Linked DNA regions of Homo sapiens: region 2 is linked to region 1. The links are contacts of gene promoters, found by promoter capture Hi-C in blood cells and fetal thymus (Javierre and others, 2016). All regions are on one chromosome and are shown on one strand. Each heading gives the region's core, a stretch centred on a gene start or on the middle of the fragment in contact. The rest is flanking DNA. Distances are from core to core; before and after follow the strand shown.

Evidence for each region. The method cuts DNA at HindIII sites, captures the fragments that hold promoters and counts their contacts. A CHiCAGO score of 5 or more calls a contact.
Region 2: a fragment that was not itself captured here is called in contact with the fragment with the promoter of MED9 in region 1 in 5 of 17 cell types (total CD8 T cells, fetal thymus, total B cells and 2 more); the score reaches 7.6 in total CD8 T cells.

The regions. Positions count from the first base shown.
Region 1 is chr17:17,475,548-17,478,777 of GRCh38, reverse strand. It overlaps MED9 (mediator complex subunit 9), which reads right to left and starts at 1,778. Exons shown (of 2, transcript NM_018019.3): 1 at 1,513-1,778. The coding sequence starts at 1,736. RefSeq lists an enhancer at 1,675-1,774. The HindIII fragment of the contact is 9,122 bases long and covers 1-3,009 here.
Region 2 is chr17:18,036,827-18,040,056 of GRCh38, reverse strand. ATPAF2 (ATP synthase mitochondrial F1 complex assembly factor 2) reads left to right here and starts at 889. Exons shown (of 8, transcript NM_145691.4): 1 at 889-1,176. The coding sequence starts at 1,044. It overlaps GID4 (GID complex subunit 4 homolog), which reads right to left and starts at 649. Exons shown (of 6, transcript NM_024052.5): 1 at 155-649. The coding sequence starts at 592. RefSeq lists silencers at 51-640, 651-740 and enhancers at 851-960, 1,101-1,150, 1,161-1,230. The HindIII fragment of the contact is 346 bases long and covers 1,419-1,764 here.

The DNA of each region.
Region 1 (3,230 bases), core at 529-3,028:
TCAAGTGATTCTCCTGCCTCAGCCTCCTGAGTAGCTGGGATTACAGGCAGCCGCCACCACACCCGGCTAATTTTTGTGTTTTTAGTAGAGATGGGGTTTTGCCATGTCGACGAGGCTGGTCTCAAACTCTGACCTCGTGATCCGCCCGCCTTGGCCTCCCAAAGTGCTGGGATTACAGGCATGAGACACCATGCCTGGCCCCTATAAACAGTATTTAAACACCAAGTGAAACCAAATGAAGCCAGGGTCTAATGTGAGAACAAAGCCTTTGTAGTTATTTGAAAAGTGGCAGAAGAGCATCAGGTCATCCCACAGCAAGTGAATCTAATTTGCTTAAACTCAAAAGTGGGTGGGCCACTAACAGTCAAGACCTTCACGTTGTAACAATTCCATTTCAGTAAAACAGTGAAGAGCACATTCATGTTCACCTGAATGTTACTGGAATCGTAATTTTCTTTTAATTTACTTTGTTTTGGTCTTTAATGGTTGAGTAAGAGTTACAAGCCTAGGGGTTTACACCTAGTATCACGTGGATATACAGTGAAGTAACATAATGAAAATAATTTACAGCCTGGGCAACATGGTGAAACTCCATCTCTACAAAAAATACAAAAATTCGCTGGGTGCCATGGCTCATGCCTGTGGTTCCGGTTACTTGGGAGGATGAGGTGGGAGGATGGCTTGAGGCCAGGAGGTTGAGGCTGCAGTGAGCCGAGATCACGCCACTGTACTCCAGTCTGGGTGACAGAGCGAGACCCTCTCTCAAAAAAAATAATAATTTAGGCAAACATAAGGATCAGTGAGACTTTTGTGTTTTTGTTTTTGGTTTTTCCTCTACAGAGTCACTTTGAAAACTCAGGCTACCCTGAAGGCTGGCCAAAAGGATGACAACAATTATTTCCTTTGGTACTGTTAGAACAAAGTCAGTACAAGTGGGTCTAATCATCTGAGGCAACTTCTGTGTTTCTGCTTAGTCTAATGTTTCCCATCGCCACCACTCCCGTCTCAATCTTTTTGAATTGTGGGTTATTCCCAATCATGTCTTTTTTTCCTTCTATCTAAACCTTTGGGGGTGAAAAGTTGGCCCCTTTTACTGCGTCCATCCCGTAGCACTTGGCACAGGGAAGATGATGCTTATCTGTTGAGTTTGCTGAACTAAGGAACTAAAGTGAGTATTACCAACATTAAAGGTGAGAAAACTGAGGCTTAAAGAGATTTAATTTGCTCAAGATCGCTGGGATGAACATTTGAGCCGCTGGACAAGAGTCTGCATTTAGTCTCTAAGCTGGCTTCATTCTTAAGGATATCGCACCTCTCGAGGCTCAAATCGTTTGCTTAACTCATGGAATGTCTCTGTGGTCTTGGGAAAGGCCTCTTCCCGCTCTGGGTCTGAGTTTCCCCATCTGTGAAACGGGGGCGTGCCCCAGAGCGCCAAGGCCTCTTGCAGCTCTGAAACGGCTGAGAGGAGAAGCTGGAGGGAGTATGGGGCCTGGTCCTCTCCTAGGTTCTTACCATTTGATGATGTTGTGAACCAAAGGTAAAAAGGAGTAGTTCTCTTCCTCCCTCGCGCGGGCAGGTGACTGAGGCCGTGGCGCCGGCGACTGCTGCGGTTGAGGCGCAGGGACCGGCGGCGGCTGAGGAGGCGGCAGCGGCTTGGTGTCAGGCAGCGGCTGGTCGGACGTTGGCGGCAATACATCCTCCGCCTGTCGCCCGGCTGCCACCCCAGCAGAGGCCATGGCTCCGGGGGTAGGTTAGCCAGAGGTCGGGTCGCCAAAAGCGTCGCGCACTCTACACGTCACCACCGCGCGCCCTGCAGGGGCGGGGTGTGGAGGAAGGCTCTGAGCGTGCGCACTGGGCAGTCGGCGGGAAAAGGCGCGGAGGCGGGGGTGGGGAGGCTGTTGCTAGGCAACGGGCCGTGGGTGGGTCTGGGGTGCCTGGATTTGGATTGTGAGTCAAGATTGCTAAATTATTAAATAGTGAGAAATAGGGGTTTATTTCAGAAATAACAATCTTTTTTTTTTTTTTGAGACGGAATTTCGCTCTTGTTGCCCAGGCTGGAGTGCAGTGGCGCGATCTCGGCTCACCGCAACCTCCGCCTCCCGGGTTCAAGCGATTCTCCTGCCTCAGCCTCCCTAGTAGCTGGGATTACAGGCATGCACCACCACGCCCGGCTAATTTTATATTTTTAGTAGAGACGGGGTTTCTCCATGTTGATCAGGCTGGTCTCGAACTCCCCACCTCAGGTGATCCGCCCGTCTCGGCCTCCCAAAGTGCTGGGATTACAGGCGTGAGCCACTGCACCCGGCCAGAAATAACAATCTTCTTATTCCTATTCACACGATGAAGAGGGCCCCAAAGCCACAAACACAGGAAGCCTTGAGATTAGTAAGGTGCAGCCTGGCCCAGTGCACCCAAGTCTGGAGAGGAGCCACTGGACCTGTGGGAGGCGTAGACAGCACTTACCTGCTGGGTGAGGCACCAAACCCGGCCCAGCCCACAGTGCAAGACATCGAGACCTCGAGTTTAGCCCTAAGGACGCAGAGGCAAAGGGATTGCGGTCCCTTCAATGCTGCAAGGTTGCTTAGAAAGAGTCTAATAATTCAACTCAACACACATTTAGTATGCACCTGCTGGATGGCCACCTGTATGTGTGGTTGCAGGCAGGCTGTCCTTGCTTTCAGTACAAGGTAGAGGGGATTGGTGCCAGGAGTAAATATCATATCCTGGAAGAACGACAAGGTCAGGTACTCTCCATACCTTCGGGCCAGTTCCCCAAGCCCCTAGGTCCCAGTTTCCTCACCCCTAAAATCATATTTAGTTCAGATTCATGGCACAGCCTAAACTGCATTCTAACTTCACATGCGTGGCTGACCCCAAAAGGTCTTGTTGGCATGAGGACTCCCTAGGATCATAGGCCAAAGATGGGTTTATGGTTATGCTTCTCAAAACAAGTTTGATATGAGGGCTGTGTAGTAATTTTCCGGGCAATGGGGACACCCACCCCAAGCTTAGCTAGTGAGTAGAAGACATGAGTGGGGAAAGCTGTCAACTGGTGAGCCCATTCTGCTGTAATCCACCATCATGGGCAGTACAGAGAGGCGAGGAGGTCCACATCCACATAGCATGATGAACAGGAGCCTTAAGAGCAAGGTGGCCAGGGAAAGGATCAATGCTGATATTTTCAGGCACATTGGGAGGGCTGTGCGGAGGCAGATCCTTGGGGAGTAGGA
Region 2 (3,230 bases), core at 342-2,841, 560 kb before region 1:
ACAGGCTGGGAAGGTCCCGGGTGGGAAGCGCCGGGTGCAGGAGGCCCCGGCGGCGAGGGCCTGTTCCGCGGCTGCGGGGTCGAGGAGCCGAAGCGGGCACGGCCCGTGAGCGCCGCGAGGAGGCCCTCGGGCCCCGGCCCGGCCCGGCGCTCACCTGCAGCACCACCTCTACGTCGTACGAGTTCCCCTTGCTCTTCTGGTGGCCGCGGAACTTGGAGCCGCTGTAGAGCAGGCTGGTGGCCACGCCGGGCTGCTGGGTGTTGATGGGCGGCGGCGGGATGAGTGAGGCCGCGGAGGCAGCGGAGGCACCGGCCGGCGGGGGACACTCGGTGCGGACCGGCATCGCGGGGTCCCCCGGAGCCAGGGCTGGGGGGAGTGGGAGAGGAACCGCCGCCGCCGCGCGGGAGCCGAGGAGGGTGGCGGGGAGGGAGAGGCCGGGGCGCGCACGCGCGGGGTGGGGGCGGGAGGGGCGACCACCCGCCCGCTGCCTGCGGAGCAAGCGCTCCGGCCGCCACCGGGACCCAGGGACCTGCGAGCAGGGCCTCCCAGTCCTGAGCTGGGTCCCCCTCCCGACTTGCCCTCGCGCACACATACACACACACAGACACTCACAGACACACAACACACAAACACACACAGACACACACACACCCCGCCCCTTCCGATTGGCTCAGGCGAGCCTGGGGGGCGGGAGCAGGCTCAGGCGGCGCTTCCGCCCATTGGCGGGAGGAGAAAACACGTGGCGCGGTGCGCGAGCGGCCCGCTGGGACTTGTAGTCTCCTCGCCGAGGCGCGGCGTGGAGGGGGCGGGGCGAGGTGCGTTTGTGATGCTGATTGACTGGGGGTGTGCGCAGGAGGCGCGCGGCGGCGACGGCGCGCCGTAGGTGTCATGCGGAAGATGGCGGCGTCCAAGGGAGGTTGAGGGCTCTGAGGAGGCGTTGAGAGGTTTCCGTACAGCCCGACCGTGCGGCTTTGGGGATCCCATCGCTCTGTGTTTCCTGCTCCAGGTTTCGCGTCTCGCATCTTCCCAGACCCTCGGGCGCGATGTGGAGGAGCTGCCTCCGGCTGCGGGACGGGGGACGCCGTCTCCTGAATCGGCCGGCGGGTGGCCCCAGCGCTTCTATGAGTCCGGGGCCAACCATCCCGTCTCCAGCCCGGGCTTACGCCCCGCCGACAGGTAAGACCATGACATGTTCTTTTGGGTTGGGGCCGAGCTGGGGTAAGGTGGGCTTCGGGCTTCGGCTGTGCAAAGCGAAGTAACTGAGGCAGGGTTCAGGCTCATGAGGTTATGCAGGCCAGTCAGGTCTTTTTACAGATGAGAAAGTGAAGCCCAGACAAGGGCAGACGACCCGAGAGGGAACAGCGAGTCACGCACGATACAGTAATTGATATTTGGCCTGTGCAGGTTTTCTCAAAGCTTATGGCTGCCCTCCCTTTAATAAGGAAAGCAGGTGTCATCTTTGTTTTCAAAAGGGGAAGTTTGGGCTCTGAATCAGGACTTCGTCTGGGTTACAGGCAGACTCTCTCAGAGGTTTGTGGTGTCTGTCTGACTGTTTTCCGTGTCTCCACTGCCCAACACAAGACCTGCCCAGAAGGGACCTAGAACCTGGGCCTTCATTCCTCCATCCCGGGCACTTCTGCTGCAGGTTTCCTGACTTTCCCTCCTACCACAACCTCTGCCATCTGCAGCCTTCTCTCCTAAATAGAAATTGACACCTCCACCTCTGACTGTGGAGTCACCTCCACCTCCAACTCTGATGAAGCTTAGAAGTAGTGGCTCTTTCATTGCTGATGGTGAGTGGTGTCAGGGTAAGAGTGAGAATGACTCATTTCAGTGAATGAAGAGCAGTAACACCCTCCCACCATTCAATTAGTTTTATTGTGCTGGAGGCAGGAGGCACGGTTGTCTTTAAGACCCACCTGTATGTATTGGTAGAGAAGCTCAATTAAAGAAGAAAAAGGCCCACCTGAATGATGTTCACTGTTCATTGCAAAAGGTTATAATATTCTGATTAAATTGTGGTTTATAATATCCTGATAAGGGACATACAAAGAAACTGTGAGAACACAGAGAATCGCTTACTCCCATCTTGGGGATGTTCAGGGTTTAGAATGGGTCTTGGGTGAAAGGGCGTTTGTTTAAGCTGAGCCATGATAGATGAGTAGGAGTTCAGCAAAAAGGTGGGAGAGTGTTGGGTATCTAGAACGTGTCCAGGGTGACAGCAAGGTATGAGGGACTTTTCCCTGACACTGCCTGTTTTAGAAAATCCAGAACTTCACAGGCAGTTTGGCATTGTGGCAGGAGTGCAAATCTAGGATCTGATGCTGGCTGAACCTCTGAGGTCTGTGTGATCTTGGGCATGCAACTACTTCCTCATTTTTCTCCATGCGTTGAAGTACTAGGTTGCCTTTGAGGATCTTTCTGGCTGTCAAGTTCTTTTTTTTTCTTCTTCTTCTGTTTTTTTGTGTTTTTTTGAGACGGAGTCTCCTCTGTCACAGAGGCTGGAGTGCAGTGGCACCATCTCGGCTCACTGCAACCTCCGCCTCCCAGATTCAAGCGATTTTGTGGTCTCAGCCTCCCAAGTAGGTGGGACTACAGGCGTCTGCCACCATGCCCTGCTAATTTTTGTATTTTTAGTAGAGATGGGGTTTATATTGACTAGGCTGGTCTCGAACTCCTGACTTTGTGACCCGCCCACCTCGGCCTCCCAAAGTGCTGGGATTACAGGCGTGAGCCACCGCGCCCAGCCAAGTTCTATAACTTTATAGAAATGGGGAAGGGGGCTGGATGCAGCAGGGAGCTGAAGTTTCACCTGCAGGACTCAGGGGAAGGGCCTGGAAATGGGCCATGAAGGGCCAGTAAAGAAGAGAAAGGAAGGGCATCCCAGGGAGGCATAGCAAAGGGGACACATTCAGGAGTTCACCAAGTTGGCAAAAAGCAAAGGGTTAATTAATTTATTTATTTACGTATTTATTTATTTATTTTGAGATGGAGTTTTACACTTGTCACCCAGGCTGGCATGCAATGGTGTGATCTTGGCTCACTGCAACCTCTACCTCCCAGATTCAAGCAATTCTCCTGCCTCAGCCTCCCAAGTAGCTGGGATTACAGGTGTCCGCCACCACACGTGGCTAATTTTGTATTTTTAGTAGAGATGGGGTTTCACCATGTTGGCCACACTGGTCATGAACTCCTGACCTCAGGTGATCCTCCCGCCTCAGCCTCCCAAA